Linked DNA regions of Homo sapiens: all the other regions are linked to region 1. The links are contacts of gene promoters, found by promoter capture Hi-C in blood cells and fetal thymus (Javierre and others, 2016). All regions are on one chromosome and are shown on one strand. Each heading gives the region's core, a stretch centred on a gene start or on the middle of the fragment in contact. The rest is flanking DNA. Distances are from core to core; before and after follow the strand shown.

The links. The method cuts DNA at HindIII sites, captures the fragments that hold promoters and counts their contacts. A CHiCAGO score of 5 or more calls a contact.
Region 2: a fragment that was not itself captured here is called in contact with the fragment with the promoter of ARL8B in region 1 in 1 of 17 cell types (activated CD4 T cells); the score reaches 6.6 in activated CD4 T cells.
Region 3: a fragment that was not itself captured here is called in contact with the fragment with the promoter of ARL8B in region 1 in 1 of 17 cell types (M2 macrophages); the score reaches 5.9 in M2 macrophages.
Region 4: a fragment that was not itself captured here is called in contact with the fragment with the promoter of ARL8B in region 1 in 1 of 17 cell types (activated CD4 T cells); the score reaches 5.2 in activated CD4 T cells.

What each region holds. Positions count from the first base shown.
Region 1 is chr3:5,120,051-5,123,817 of GRCh38, forward strand. ARL8B (ARF like GTPase 8B) reads left to right here and starts at 2,242. Exons shown (of 7, transcript NM_018184.3): 1 at 2,242-2,538. The coding sequence starts at 2,416. LOC124906212 (a long non-coding RNA gene) reads left to right here and starts at 3,009. Exons shown (of 2, transcript XR_007095800.1): 1 at 3,009-3,666. RefSeq lists a silencer at 2,048-2,307. The HindIII fragment of the contact is 19,308 bases long and covers 1-3,767 here.
Region 2 is chr3:4,671,087-4,674,730 of GRCh38, forward strand. It overlaps ITPR1 (inositol 1,4,5-trisphosphate receptor type 1), which reads left to right. Exons shown (of 62, transcript NM_001378452.1): 21 at 2,050-2,301; 22 at 3,116-3,257. Among named protein-coding and RNA genes, the nearest start is that of EGOT, 79 kb to the right of the region's middle. The HindIII fragment of the contact is 1,227 bases long and covers 1,186-2,412 here.
Region 3 is chr3:4,643,226-4,646,891 of GRCh38, forward strand. It overlaps ITPR1 (inositol 1,4,5-trisphosphate receptor type 1), which reads left to right. Exons shown (of 62, transcript NM_001378452.1): 8 at 911-1,009; 9 at 2,162-2,245; 10 at 2,357-2,503. Among named protein-coding and RNA genes, the nearest start is that of EGOT, 110 kb to the right of the region's middle. The HindIII fragment of the contact is 4,067 bases long and covers 54-3,666 here.
Region 4 is chr3:4,690,337-4,694,127 of GRCh38, forward strand. It overlaps ITPR1 (inositol 1,4,5-trisphosphate receptor type 1), which reads left to right. Exons shown (of 62, transcript NM_001378452.1): 32 at 808-1,008; 33 at 3,154-3,405. Among named protein-coding and RNA genes, the nearest start is that of EGOT, 59 kb to the right of the region's middle. The HindIII fragment of the contact is 2,229 bases long and covers 636-2,864 here.

The sequences.
Region 1 (3,767 bases), core at 992-3,491:
AACTGAGTTCCTTCCCTCCACAAGATGGGAAGTCAGTCACACCTGGTTATACCTCCTCCCTTATGTCGTTTAGAAACAACAAACGACCGGCCGGGCGCGGTGGCTCAAGCCTGTAATCCCAGCACTTTGGGAGGCCGTAGGCGAGCGGATCACGAGGTCAGGAGATCGAGACCATCCTGGCTAGCAGGGTGAAACCCCGTCTCTACTAAAAATACAAAAAATTAGCCGGGCGTGGTGGCGGACGCCTGTAGTCCCAACTACTCGGGAGGCTGAGGCAGGAGAATGGTGTGAACCCGGGAGGCGGAGCTTGCAGTGAGCCGAGATCGCATCACTGCACTCCAGCCTGGGCGACAGAGCGAGACTCCGTCTCAAAAAAAAAAAAAAAAAAAAGAAAGAAACAACAAACGACCAACATTAACGTTAAAATAGAGATCACAAGACTGACAGAACAGACTCTTTGTGACAATTAGATACCAAATTATAAACAGGACCTAAGGCCATACTAGGCAAGAGTTAAATGACTAAGTGCAAGGTTTCTCTTTTTCTCTACCAGCTAAACCAGCACTGGCCTGGAGATAAACACAATTAAAACAGTTACAACTCTCTGCCAGATGCAGGCTAACTGACCTGTTCCACAAGCCTAACTATGGCTTTGATTAGACAAGAGACTGATTTCTGTAACTTTCTCCTGTTAAGAGACAACTAACCATGCATCCATGCATTGGTTCTGGCTGGCTTTTTCTTTTCTTTCTTTCTTTTTTTTTTTTTTGAGATGAAGTCTCGCTCTGTCACCCAGGCTGGCGTGCAGTGGCATGACCTCGGTCACTGCAACCTCTGCCTCCCGGAGTCAAGCGATTCTCCTGCCTCAGCCTCCAGCATAGCTGGGATTACAGGCGCGTGCCACCATGTCCCGCTAATTTTTGTATTTTTAGTAGAGACGGGGTTTCACCATGTTGGTCGGGCTGGTCTTGAACTCCCAACCTGAGGTGATCTGCCCGCCTTGACCTCCCAAAGTGCTGGGATTACAGGCATGAGCCACTGCACCCGGCCTGGGCTAATTTTTTGTATCTTTAGTAGAGACGGGGTTTCACCTTGTTGGCCAGGCTGGTCTCAAACTCCTGACCTCCTGATCCACCTGCCTCAGCCTCTCAAAGTGTTTGGATTACAGGCTGTGAGCCACCGCGCCCAGCCCAGTTCTGGCTGGTTTTACAGAGGCCAAGCACTTCAATACCTTTCCCGTCCCTGATTCACTTTCTGATGTGGAGGGCCTGATTATAATACTTTTACTTTATTTATTTTTTAATTGTTGTTTTTTGAGACGAGGGTCTCACTCTATCACCCAGGCTGAAGTGCAGTGGCATGATCTCAGCTCACTGCAACCTTCGCCTCCTGGGTTCACACAATTCTCCCACCTCGGCTTCCCAAGCAGCTGAGGCTACAGGTGCATGCCACCACGTTCGGCTAATTTTGTATTTTTAGTAGAGATGGGGCTTCACCATGTTGGTCAGGCTGGTCTCAAACTCCTGACCTCAGGTGATCTGCCCACCTTTGCCTCCCAAAGTGCTGGGATTACAGGCATGAGCCACCGCGCCCTGCCTGATTATAATACATTTAAATGTTAAGTCGCCACCCCAAATGAACATAGGTCATATGCAACATACAGATTTGTTCACTATGTGTGTAAGACCACCTTCATACATATTAATAGCTCCTTCCATAAGTTAAATATGTTTACTTGGCCAACTCCTCAATATAAATTCTTGTTGCACCCTTCCCTCTCTCAAAGTGCTTACTTTTGTTTTTTTTGGCCCGAGGCTGCACGTCCTGCCTACAGCTTATAATCCCCTTCTTAAGAAATAATGCTCTCCTTTCTAAATTTATAAACGGTGTCATTTTTAAGTTAACACTATCTTTTGCTACTACCAAAAATGTAGGACAGGAATTTTTATTCCACGCCAACTCTTCCAGAGTCTTGAAGTCTTCCTGCAGATTGTTAATGAACAATTATAGCAAAAAATGAATGAATGAATTAACGAATGTATAAGTGGATGAATGACGAATGAACCAACAATGAATGAATGTAGAGAAAGCCTCAAGGGGGCCCGAGGGTACGCTGTGCTGCGGAGCATGCCCACCAGGTGGCGATGCCAGCGGCGGGCGGGCCTGGCCGGATTGGCCGCGCCGCTCTTGCCGTGGGTGCCGACGGCGGCGCCGGGACGGGCGTGGGGGGTAGGGCGAGTCATATGATCCGCTCGGCTTCCTGGGTCTGGCTGCTGCCGCCCGCCGGTGTCCGCCCGTGTCGCGCCGGGGCACCAAGGAGCCGTTGGAGGGTCCGGGCGGAGGCCCGCTCGTGTGGAAGTCGTCGACGCCGCCGCTCGTCCGTCCTCCCGTCCGTTCTCGCTCCCGGCCGCCATCATGCTGGCGCTCATCTCCCGCCTGCTGGACTGGTTCCGTTCGCTCTTCTGGAAGGAAGAGATGGAGCTGACGCTCGTGGGGCTGCAGTACTCGGGCAAGACCACCTTCGTCAATGTCATCGCGGTGAGCGCCCGCCCACTCACTCGCCCGGGGCTCCGCAGCCAGGAGTCCGGCCCGGCGCTTCTCCAAGGCCTGAGTTGGGGCCCCCCTCGGCGCGATGGGACTGATGGCGGGGGGCGTGCGAAGCTGGGCCTGTCATCTCCCGAGGGCCAGCATTTGGAATTTCCCGCGTGTTGGCGGCGCGGGGAGTAGCACTGAGATCGGCAGCGGAAGGGTTAAGTCAGTGTAGACATTTTCCAAGGGCTGTGTCCTCAACGCCGCGGGGGCTCGGAAAGAGTTAAATTGAACTCGTCACATTTTTAAAGCGCTTGGGGATTGGGGTTTCCCTTGGGTTTGCCCAGTAGGGGCAGCCAAAGAGTTAAGTCCAGTCTGTCACTTTCCCAAAGGGTGGGATTTGGCAAATCCGTCAGCCGTACGAGAAAGCGTAAGCATTAAGAGCCTCTCTTAAGTTGCCACTTTGGACCAATAGACCCATTGTGAAAGCGGGAGACCAGTGTGAGCGCCTTCCTGAATTCTGTGGGCCGCTGGTCCCATCTAATTCAGTTACTTGTTTTCACCCGTCCCCCAGGCGCGGAGACCAAGCTCATTGCTGAGCTCCAGCTAGCCCACAATACATAGTATTTATTAAGCTAAGAGTTAATTGTCTTAAGCGACTAGATAAGATGGATCTGCAGTTAGCATAAAGTTAACTACCCTGCGAAAGAGGAGTTGGTCTTTAAATGGTGTTTTTCACTTGAAGAGAAAAGAAGGTACTGGGCAGGAACATAGCTTAGCAGGCCTAGGGAATGGGTGGAAGGAAAATTGCACTGAGGACTTACATAGAATGTGGTGTTTGTTCAGCAATGATTGAGTAGAAAGGTGATTGTTTCGTTTTGCTTGTTTGGTTGGTTGGGAAATAAATAGGAGTGAAAGATTTCGCCTCGATCTTTATTTAGAGCCCAAGAGTTGTTGTGACTCAGTTTTAGCTGGTAGTGGCTTGTACACGCCAGGGGAGTTTTAGAACTGTTCTGAAGAGAGATGGCAGCAGTTCTTCCACCTTTTCGATGACTGTTGAAATCCTGAAGATTAGCTGTCCGACTGGTTAGGTTACACAAGATGATTCAAACACAGCTTTCATGTTTGAGAAAATAGGTAACTTGTGATTCTTAGTCCTTGCACTAATAAAGCAACAGGAATGAGTAAGTCTTGGAGAAAAAGAGATTAGCAGAAACCCCAAAGTCCTTTGAAGAATG
Region 2 (3,644 bases), core at 549-3,048, 450 kb before region 1:
AGATTTCAGTTAGTTGACATCTGGATGTGGCTGGTTCCCAAAAAGGATGAGTGCTTGCCTCAGTCCCTGGTGATAGTTTATCCTTCAGCAGCATGGCCCATAGATATGGTGGTAGGTACGTAAGAGGCAGGCTGTGGGGTCACATCCCTACCTCTCCGCTTACCAGTTTTTTGACATTGGCCAAGTTTGATTTTATGCTCTAATTTCTTTATCTGCAAAATGAAGGTGATAGTGCCAATCTCACCAAATGTTTATAGACAGAGACAGAAGATGTGTGTGTTTGTATACACATATATCTACACATTCATCCATGTATCTTTCTATAACTACACAAATATATAATAAAAAGCATGTACTTACACTAATACTTCCAATTCCATTCCAACACCATAGGATTTATTCTAGCCTTCACCTTTTCCATTTCATGACTCCCTCCAGCTGCCACGATTCCCTGTATGTTTACCCATCTGCCCGTTTCCCTGTGTGTACCTGTCTCACCTCTGCCACCCACCTCCACGGTCCCCAGTGTCTCCTTGGCTCCAGCTGTAAGACCTGCCAGTCCTGCCACCTGAAGGGAAGGGAAGGGGAAGAAAGAAAGGAAGTGAACCAATTAATACTTTTAAAAGAAAAGGAAAGGGAAGATAAAGCAAGGCTTTTATTATTTTTTAATAAAATAAATAAAACTGCAGATAAAATGCCTTTTCTTGCCTCCTGTATTCTGTTCTTTCATTCATGTGTGATGTACGCATCCTATCCACATTCTCTGTGTGCTGCATTTGTATGCATCTGTAAATCATATGTAGTATTTTATCTCTACTTAAAATTTTATATAAATGGGACTGTACTCCAAATACCATTCTAAAACTTGCCTTATTTATTCAATACGGGTACTGAAGCCATATTGAATATATCTGCGTTAATAGAGATTAATCCATTTCTGTAATTTGGACTGTTGGATGATATTCTGTTTTATTGATTTATCACATTTTCATCGCTGTTTGATATTTGATCACATGCTGCAGTTCTTCATGTCAGGAAACATCTTCATTCAAATTTTTCTGAGTATATGTATGAATTTCCATTCCACACTGGGAGGTGGGCTTGGAGGATATTCATATTTTAAGCTTTACTAAGCAATTCTAAATTGGATGTGTCAGTGTACACACCCACCAGTTGTAGACGACAAGCTTTGTTTCTTCATGTCTTTGTTAACCTTGAATATCATGATGCTTTTTAATTTTTGGTAATTTTATAAGTGTGAAATAGACTCATGTCTACACTTGCATTTCCCCGACATCTAATGAGGCTGAGAATGTCTTCAAATCATGATTATTAGAAATACATAGAGTTTTTAATTCAGAAGGCAGTATTTTGAAAGCCTGTGGCTTTCTCGTTATTTCACATTTCAAGTATGTTTACTCTTTCAGTGTTTGATGAATCTTCTCCCAAGTGAATGAGAAAGAGTGCCTTAATTGGTCAGGTTCCAGTTAACAACATTCACTTGCAATTGGATGAAGATGAAAAGTGAGGAGTCTCCTACTTTTGTAAATGAAATGTTTTTTTACACGTGTAGGAATTAGAGTGACTTACATGATATAAGATCTTTAAAATGTTATAAAATTTCTAATTAGGCTGAATATGTGTGATATCTTGAACATTTCCTACATGGTCTTTACTGTATAAAACACAGCTGAAGGGAAAGAAATAGACAACCATCTTAGGCCTTAGCATTCCCCCCGTTTATTTTAAAAAGTAAACATTAAGGACCTAGTGGAATTAGGTCGTCACATAATTGCTCCAACACAGCTGGATAGACATGTGTTCCTGTTGGCTGTCAACCCACACTCTACTGCACAGCTTGAATAGTTCTTTTATCTGCTTGGTACCAAAGCCAAAATCCTGGTATACAAGAGCAATTTAGGGGTGTTGATGTATGAGTTTAGTTGGCCAAATGTCACTCCCATGACAGTCAGGGCTGCCCAGACGACCCTTCATTCATCCTGAATGATTTCTGGAGCGTGAGCTGTGTGCCCTTGTTCCTTCCTCTAGATATCAGCTGAACCTCTTTGCGAGGATGTGTCTGGACCGCCAATACCTGGCCATCAACGAAATCTCAGGCCAGCTGGATGTCGATCTCATTCTCCGCTGCATGTCTGACGAGAACCTGCCCTATGACCTCAGGGCGTCCTTCTGCCGCCTCATGCTTCACATGCATGTGGACCGAGATCCCCAGGAACAAGTCACCCCCGTGAAATATGCCCGCCTCTGGTCGGAGATTCCCTCGGAGATCGCCATTGACGAGTGAGCCTGGCACCTGAAAACCTCACTTTACATTATTCTGTGCGGCAGTAGATAGCCCCATATGGTCTCATTAAATCTTAGAAGAAAGATGAAGTGTTGGTTTTTTCTTCAAGCTTAAAATAAAATTAAGTGGATGGCAAATATTTTTTTCCTCAAGAATGTGAAAGATGGCATGATTATGTTTTTGGTTTTTGTTTGTTTGTTTGTTTGTTTGAGATGGAGTCTCACTCTGTTGCCCAGGCTGAACTGCAGTGGCGCAATCTCGGCTCACTACAAGCTCTGCCTCCCGGGTTCGTGCCATTCTCCTTCCTCAGCCTCCCAAGTAGCTGGGACTACAGACGCCCACCACCACGCCCGGCTAATTTTTTGTATTTTTAGTAGGGACGGGGTTTCACCGTGTTAGCTAGGACGGTCTCGATCTCCTGACCTTGTGAGCCGTCCACCTCGGCCTCCCAAAGTGCTGGGATTACAGGCGTGAGCCACCGCGCCTGGCCCCGATTGTATTTTTTATATCTCATTTATCTCCTCTTTCATTCTGCAAATATTTAAGTGTGTACTATGTGCCAAGCTCAAGAAATATATCAGTGAACAAACTAGAAAGCAATCTCTATGCTAGTTGGTGGAAGACAGACAATAGGCAAGATAAACGACTCAAATATATAGTTGGTGATATATGCTAAGGAGGGAAAAAATAAAGTAGGGTCAAGGGATGCCAAGGGTTAGGGGATGTTGACTTTTGAAGCTGAGTGACCCAGGAAGACCTCTCTGGGAATAACTTGAAATTTTGTTTCCTTTCTTTCTCCTTTCTTTTCAGCTATGATAGTAGTGGAGCTTCCAAAGATGAAATTAAGGAGAGATTTGCTCAGACCATGGAGTTTGTGGAGGAGTATTTAAGAGATGTGGTTTGTCAGAGGTTCCCTTTCTCTGATAAAGAGAAGAATAAGCTTACGTTTGAGGTAACTCATGATGAAATCTTCTATGTGTATTATCTGCCTCTCAGTGGTCATTTTTCTATGGGGCAAATAGAAAATATGTGAGTAGGTTGTGATTTTGGTCATGATGCTCTGGTTTTGTAATGGAAAGGAATTCAGCTTGGTTTTGTTCCAGAATAAAATAAAACGGATACCAGTCACATGGCTTAATAGTAGTTATGGGCTTAAAAGAAATATACAAGGTGACTTGAACCACATAAAATGATAGAACATCACTTTGTGTTAAAACTGACAAGAGAGAAACACTGTGCTTGCAATCTGCCATAGCTTAATCATTTGCAGAACATAAATCCTTGTTACTTCTGAGTTAACAACGTTTCTGAGACTGCTTTTGCCTTTTAAGAGCTGTAT
Region 3 (3,666 bases), core at 837-3,336, 480 kb before region 1:
TATTCATTTGGAGTTAGAGAAAATTCAATTGTATATGCTCCTCAAATGTGATAAGCTTGAAAATAGATGGTTTTTCATGTTAGGAAACCATCTTTTCTAACCAAAAATAAAAGACAAGTGTGCCTTGTTCTGAATTTCATTTTCAGCACATCCTTTGGTTTCCTATCCTTTAAACGAATCTGTGTGTGGCCATGGCTTAGTTGAGAAGATGAGATGGACTTGAATTTAAAATAATATTTTACAAAGAATAGGTGTAGACCCATTTGTGGGCCATGAAATCAGTTTAGTGGCTTGTGACTATCCTTTTTGAAAGTGGGATAGAACAGAAAGATCAGACTGTGTTACATCACATAATGATAAGTATTGTTTTTTTGGGGGGGGGGTAACTTTTGTTTTAGTTACATATATATATAGTATTATAATTATAGAAACATGCGTATAAGTCTCAATGGCTGTATATATGACTTGATCATAGACCATGTATTTCCGAATGTTATAGTAAAAATATGAAAGTAATTGTTTTAGAAACATAAAGTTATGGCTTTGTCAAAGATAAAGACTTACTCTGACTCTATCTTGTTTTTTCTTAAATTTAGTTAAAACTTACTTATATAGGTACCTTAAACTGAACAGTTTTTTTTTTTTTTCCTGCTCTGAACTGGCTTTGAAACATCTCTGTATAATCAGTGACACTCGAGGAACAACATTCAGGCTTAGCCTTGTAAACATGACCCCCTCTGCACAGGGTCAGGTTTTAAAGAAGGCGTGGTGTGTGCTACATCTTTATACTTGCTGGGGATAGGCCTTGCCTTCTTCAGCACAGACTCATATGTCTTCTAGAACTGCCCAGTGGTCAATCCGCAGTCCTTATCAGTTTTGTGCAAAGCTCTATTGCTCCTTTCCATTCCAGGTGGTCATAGGTGACAAGGTGGTTCTGAACCCCGTCAATGCTGGTCAGCCCCTACATGCTAGCAGCCATCAACTGGTAGATAACCCAGGCTGCAATGAGGTAAGGACATTGAGTTATGTGTGTGGGTGTGGTTATCCTGCAGGAGCGGGTCTGGCAGGCGCCAGTGCATGCGTGTGCTGAGAGTGACTTCAGCAGTGACTTGGGGCAGGGTGCCCATTCTGCAGGTGAAGAAACAGGCCCAGGGTCAAGGCTGCCGTGTAAGGTTGTGCAACTGTGTGCAGTGGGTAGTAGATGTGGGCTGATACTCACTCTAGTGCTCAGTTTGTGAAGCCTTGCGTCACTGAGGGGTTGTTTTTTCATTGGTGAAGCCAGAGATGAACCCTTTTACTAATTTTTTTCTGGCCATAGGAGCACCTTTTTCTAATTTGTCTCCATATACAGGGTGCCTCTTTTTAACTGTTCAAAAAGGAACACTGCAGCTTATCAGCAGCCCTGCAAGAGTGATAGCTTGCTTTTGGCAATACATCTACTTCTCCTCTAAATTAGCAATTATAGGATGCAAGGATGTTACTTCCTTGTGACATAAATATTTGTCTGATGGGTAAAGACATAAACTCTTCAGTGGGATAGATGTGGGTTCACATCCTGTCTGCCTTTCCAAGCTCTGTGACGGCAGGTTGGTTACCCGGTCTCCCTGCATATCAGTTTCCTTATCTCTGAAATGGGGGCGGCGGTCGGACCTATTTTTCAGGGTGTTGCCAAGAATTAAAGGAGATTGTGCGTGTTAGCACCTAAACCTAGTGCCTGGCACAGATTTAGTGCACAAACAATGGCTGCTGTTGTTAACAATGATCATTAACATTTTCGAGTGTATACACTGGACTCATTTTTTTTCCCTTTATGGCTCATCCCATTTTATAAGTACTTATTTTCATCAGGCCTTTACTTTCTGGCTACAGAACAAGAGACTTGGAGGAAAATGAAAATATCATTCCAGAAAGGCAGGAGGCTTGGTTCCATTAGTCATGGTTGGAATGTGCATAGTGATTGGTGCAAATGAACCATTTATTTCCAAACTCTGCCAGCAGGCCAGTTGATTTTGCAGGTGCTGTGATTTTAGTGGCGTCAATCTTTAGAGTTTTTAGTCTCAAGTACAGCCTTGCTTCCTAGGCTGCGGTGAGAAGTCTGGGGGCTGGATGACACAGTTGTTGTGAGGGGTACGTGAAAAAATAACTCGAATCTGTGTTTCAGGTCAATTCCGTCAACTGCAATACAAGCTGGAAAATAGTCCTTTTCATGAAATGGAGTGATAACAAAGACGACATATTAAAGGGGGTGAGTTTGATGCTTTATGGGCTGAGCATTACTTGGCTCTTCTTGGGGGCAGCAGTCTAATTCTCTTTTTAAATTCTTTTTTCCTTAATTCTTTCTTGTGTTGACTGTCAGGGTGACGTGGTGAGGCTGTTTCATGCTGAGCAGGAGAAGTTTCTCACCTGTGACGAACACAGGAAGAAGCAGCACGTCTTCCTGAGAACCACGGGCCGGCAGTCGGCCACATCTGCCACCAGTTCAAAAGCCCTGTGGGAGGTGGAGGTAAGGGTAGGGTGGAGAAAGGGCTCCTGGGTTTAGAGGATATCAGCCTGTATATAGGCTCTCTCTCTCTCTATCCTACAAATATTCATACATACATATACCTATATGTGTCTATACACCCACATACACACACCTACACACACACACAGAATACATGTGTGTGTATATATATAAGTCACAAACAAGTACTTATACCCACCTTATTCCAAAAATGGGTTGGGGATGGCATAGTGAAGTAAGTGCATCATGGCATATCATGGTGCTGCATATTTGTGCAGAAGGAAAGAATAAGTACTTTGGAAACAAATTCAAAAACGAAATTAGAAATAGCTTTCTCTGAGCCATCTAATCCCTTCTATTGTTTTCTTTCCCTTGCTCATTTATCTATCACAACAATATTTAACCAGGTGTCTACCTGACACAATACATAGGTGATGCCCACATTGGTGATGGGGCAGAAATGAGAAGATATACACCCAGATAACTGGAACACACAAGGGGATGGTGAAGGTGGTAAGAGGCATATTCCACATGCTCTGGAGGTTTCAGTGAGAGAGGGTGAATGTCTGGGTGGGTGAAGAATTAAGGAAGACTTCCTGAAGGAGATAGCATCTGATCTGGTACCTGCAGGATGATTTGTATTTCAGAAGGAAGAGATGAATGGAGTAGGTTACTTCATGTAAGAGAATGGTGCAGAATGTGGAAACGTGAAGCAGCGTGGGATAAAACTCAGTAACTTGTTTGGTGAAGGGCACGGGATAGGCATGGGAAATTAAACAGAACTGTTTTTGGAGACCAGAGGCTGAAGGGCCATATATCCAGGCTATAGGGAGTTGGGATTTAATTTATGGGCAGGGGAGAAATTTGGAAAGTTGTTTGAGGAAGGGAATAACATAATCAGTGTGCAACTTAAAGAAGCTAGAAGATTCTGCCCACAGCATGTAATTTGTTGTAAGGAGAGTCTAGAATTGCAGGACAAAGAAGGAAATGTTCTGAATGCTTGGTGAAAGAGGCAATGAGAGCTTCAACTAACATGGAGCTCTTTCTTCACCTCAAGCCTTCCTTTCTGTGTAATTGCAGCATGAATTAGAATTCTAATTCAAATTTCTAATTTGAATAGATAAATTTTTCTGTCTCTGCTTGCGTTCTCTTTTCCTCCTCCC
Region 4 (3,791 bases), core at 500-2,999, 430 kb before region 1:
GAGGATATCCAAATGGCCAGTAAATGTGACAAAGTGTTCAACATGATTAGACATCAGAGAAATGCAAATTAAGTTATGTTTAGCCACAATAAGATGTGGCTAAAATTTAAAAGACTGACAATACTAAGTGTTGACAAGGATAGGAACAGCTGGAATGTAGAATGCAACTTGTTAACATCTTTTGAAAGCTGTCAGTATCTTCTAAAGCCAAACATACTCATACTTTGTGACCCAACAATTCTGTTCTTAGACCCAAAAGAAGTATGGGTTTAAGTTCACCAGAAGACATGTGTAAGAATGTTCACAGCAACTCTAGTATTTATAATACTAGGAATGTTACTATCTATTAAAACTGGATCCTACTCCAAATGCCCTTCCACCATAGAATAAAGATACTGTCATATATTCATGCAATGGAACTTACATATCAGTGAAAAAGAGTGCAAGAGGTTTAAGAACAGGCAAAACTAATCTGGTTATATAAGTCAAAATAGTAGTTAAATTGTGAGATAAGGCATAAAGGAGACCTGTTTTGTTTCTTGATCTGGGTGTTCAAGGTCCCTTTATAATCTATTCAGCTGAATGCTAATGAGTTGTTTACTTTTCTGTATGTTTATTTATATGTCAATGAAAAAAGCTTACTAAAAAAGAAGGTAGTACAGAAGCAAGAATGAGAGAAACATATCTTCATGGGTTTAAATGCTTCCCTTGTGTGTGTTTCAGTGGACTCTTCTTTTTCTCACTTTTTAATCTGTTCTGTCAGCTTTTTGACTTGTCCCTGTGCTCTTTTCCTCACTCTTGTGCCAGATCCTGGAGGCAGTAACCATGCAGCACATCTTCATGAACAATTTCCAGCTTTGCAGTGAGATCAACGAGAGAGTTGTTCAGCACTTCGTTCACTGCATAGAGACTCACGGTCGGAATGTCCAGTATATAAAGTTCTTACAGACAATTGTCAAGGCAGAAGGGAAATTTATTAAAAAATGCCAAGACATGGTTATGGCCGAGGTGATTGTTATATATTTCTGTATACCTCCATCTGGTGTTCTGTAGAAATTTTAAAATTATTTAATCTTATCTGTATGAACTTGCACCCTCTTCAGGAGCCATACAGAAGGACAGAAAGTAATTGTGTGTGCATATGTCTGTGTCATCTCTTGTGTGAGCTTAAGTTGTAGATATAGGCAAGAATCTGATCTGATATTTCATAGCAACCAATTTAAGGAAGGATGGCTTGGATTTTTCTGACAGGGGACAGAAAGAGGAATAAGGAACTGAATTATAGGGAATGGAGATAAAATGTAGTCAGGACCCAGTGAGCCAGAACGCTTCCATTCTTGTGGATTATGAATTTTAAAAATTATTCACCTAATTAATTAGATGGAAAAAATTTTGCCTGATGCTTTTTGAGGAGCAGTTGGTCTGTGGAATCAAGGAAAAGCCTTACTTGGTTTATTATGAATTCACTTTGATTTACAATCTTGTCTACGTATATGGTTCCATTGGCAGGGAGGGTAGTGTGATTAAGAGTTGAGGCCAACGTGGTGGCTCATGCCTGTAATCCCAGCTCTTTGGGAGGCTGAGGCAGGAGCATCACTTGAGGCCAGGAGTACAGGACCAGCCTGGGCAACATAGTAAGACCCTTGTTTCTACAAAAAATTTTAAAAATTAGCTGGGTGTAGTGGCATGTGCCCATAATCCCAGTTACAGAGGAAGATCCCTTGAGCCCAGGATTTTGACCTTGCAGTGAGCTATGATGGCACCCACTGCACTCCAGCCTGGGCAACAGAGTGAGACGTTGTCTCTTAGAAAAAAAATAAAAAAAAGAGAGAGTCGGCTCAACCTGGGATACAAATGTCACCTGAACCCCTTCACTGAAGGGTGCCATGAGATACATTACTTGACCTTTCAACTCCTCAGTGAGCTTTTCTATAACATGAAGATACGCAGATTTCACTTTAAAGAGTTGATATGTGGGGTAAATGAGATAATGGTGACATTAATGCCTAACACTTTTTGGAAGCCGGTCATACTCTAGGCACAGTCCTAAGCAGTTTGTCTATAATAAATTATTTAATCTACATAGCACTGTGAGTTAGCTATTGTATTTGTCCTGGTTTCACAGATGAAGAAACTGAGATACAATGAGGTTAGGAAGTTTGTCTAAAGAGTTTATCTTGGTATCTGGCATCTAATCATTAGAGCTCATAAAGGTTAGTCATTAGTAAGTATTGACCATGTTTATTTTGACTTCTGTGCCAGCCCTTTCTGGGTTTTTTGTACTTCATGTACTGCTGATGAAATCGATTTATTCTTAAATAAATTTGCAAGAAGCCTCATCTTAGGGGACAAGTTATAAACAGGAATGCCTCAACTTTTTGAAGAGTAAGTATGGAGAGGAAGGCATATCTTAATTAAAAGTAATTTGTTGATTGAAGAGATAAGATGGTAGATGAAAGAATTGTAAAGGGGATACATTGTAAAGCATAAAAATAAGATGGAGGCAGGGCACATTGGCTCACACCTATAATCCCAGCACTTTGGGAGGCCGAGTTGGGTGGATCATCTGAGGTTGAGAGTTCGAGACCAGCCTAGCCAACATGGGGAAACCCCGTCTCTACTAAAAATACAAAATTAGCCAGGCATGGTGGTGCATCCCTGTAATCCCAGCTACTCAGGAGGCTGAGGCAGGAGAATCGCTTGAACCAACCTGGGAGGCGGAGGTTGTGGTGAGCCGAGATCACGGCATTGCACTCCAGCCTGGGCAACAAGAGTGAAATTCCATCTCAAAAAAAATAAATAAGATGGAAACATTTAAAAAGAAATATCATAGCCTAATTGGTAGGTATGGAAATACCAGTGCAAGCTTGCAATCTCTGTTTCCACTTGATGCATTAATGCTGGTATGCAGGCTTTCTCTTCCCCTAATAGCTTTCTAGGGCCAGTGTGGTATTTCTGTATCTGTGGACTAAAATTATGATGCTGAAGATTTCTAGTTGTTCAGTTATATAAATGAATGAAGTCAAAATAGGTAAGACTGATTTGGGAAGATAAATGCTAACAGAACCTCTCTCTTCCTCTGTGAATAGATTTTTTTCATGCTGCCCCACCCCTGCAAGCTTGTAATCTAAACCCACCCTGTTCTTTATGTAGCTGGTCAATTCGGGAGAGGATGTCCTCGTGTTCTACAACGACAGAGCCTCTTTCCAGACTCTGATCCAGATGATGCGGTCAGAACGGGATCGGATGGATGAGAACAGCCCTCTCATGTACCACATCCACTTGGTCGAGCTCCTGGCTGTGTGCACGGAGGGTAAGAATGTCTACACAGAGATCAAGTGCAACTCCCTGCTCCCGCTGGATGACATCGTTCGCGTGGTGACCCACGAGGACTGCATCCCTGAGGTGAGCGAGCCCAGCCTGGCTGTGCCCTTCTCGTTGCTATGTGGTGTGTGCTGTCGTGGCTCACTGGGAGACATGGTGGTGGCTGGCCTGGGGGAGCCCTCATGGCTCTGAAAGCTGCAGCTCATTTTGTAGTGGGATTTCAGTTCCCTAAAACATTTTCTCGAGCATTGATTTTGCATGAAAGGAACACGGAAGAAGTTAGTCGTTCTTTCTGTATCTTTAAGAACAGTGAGGAAAAAAGCTTCAGCTCTGTGGACTAATTTAGCCTGTTGAGCAAAGGGGATATGACCTGAATGAACTTTTCAGAAATGTGACGAAGAGTAGGTTGAGATCTAGTCCATATGAATGTAAGACTTAGTAAGTTAATTCTTTAAAACAAAAACCCT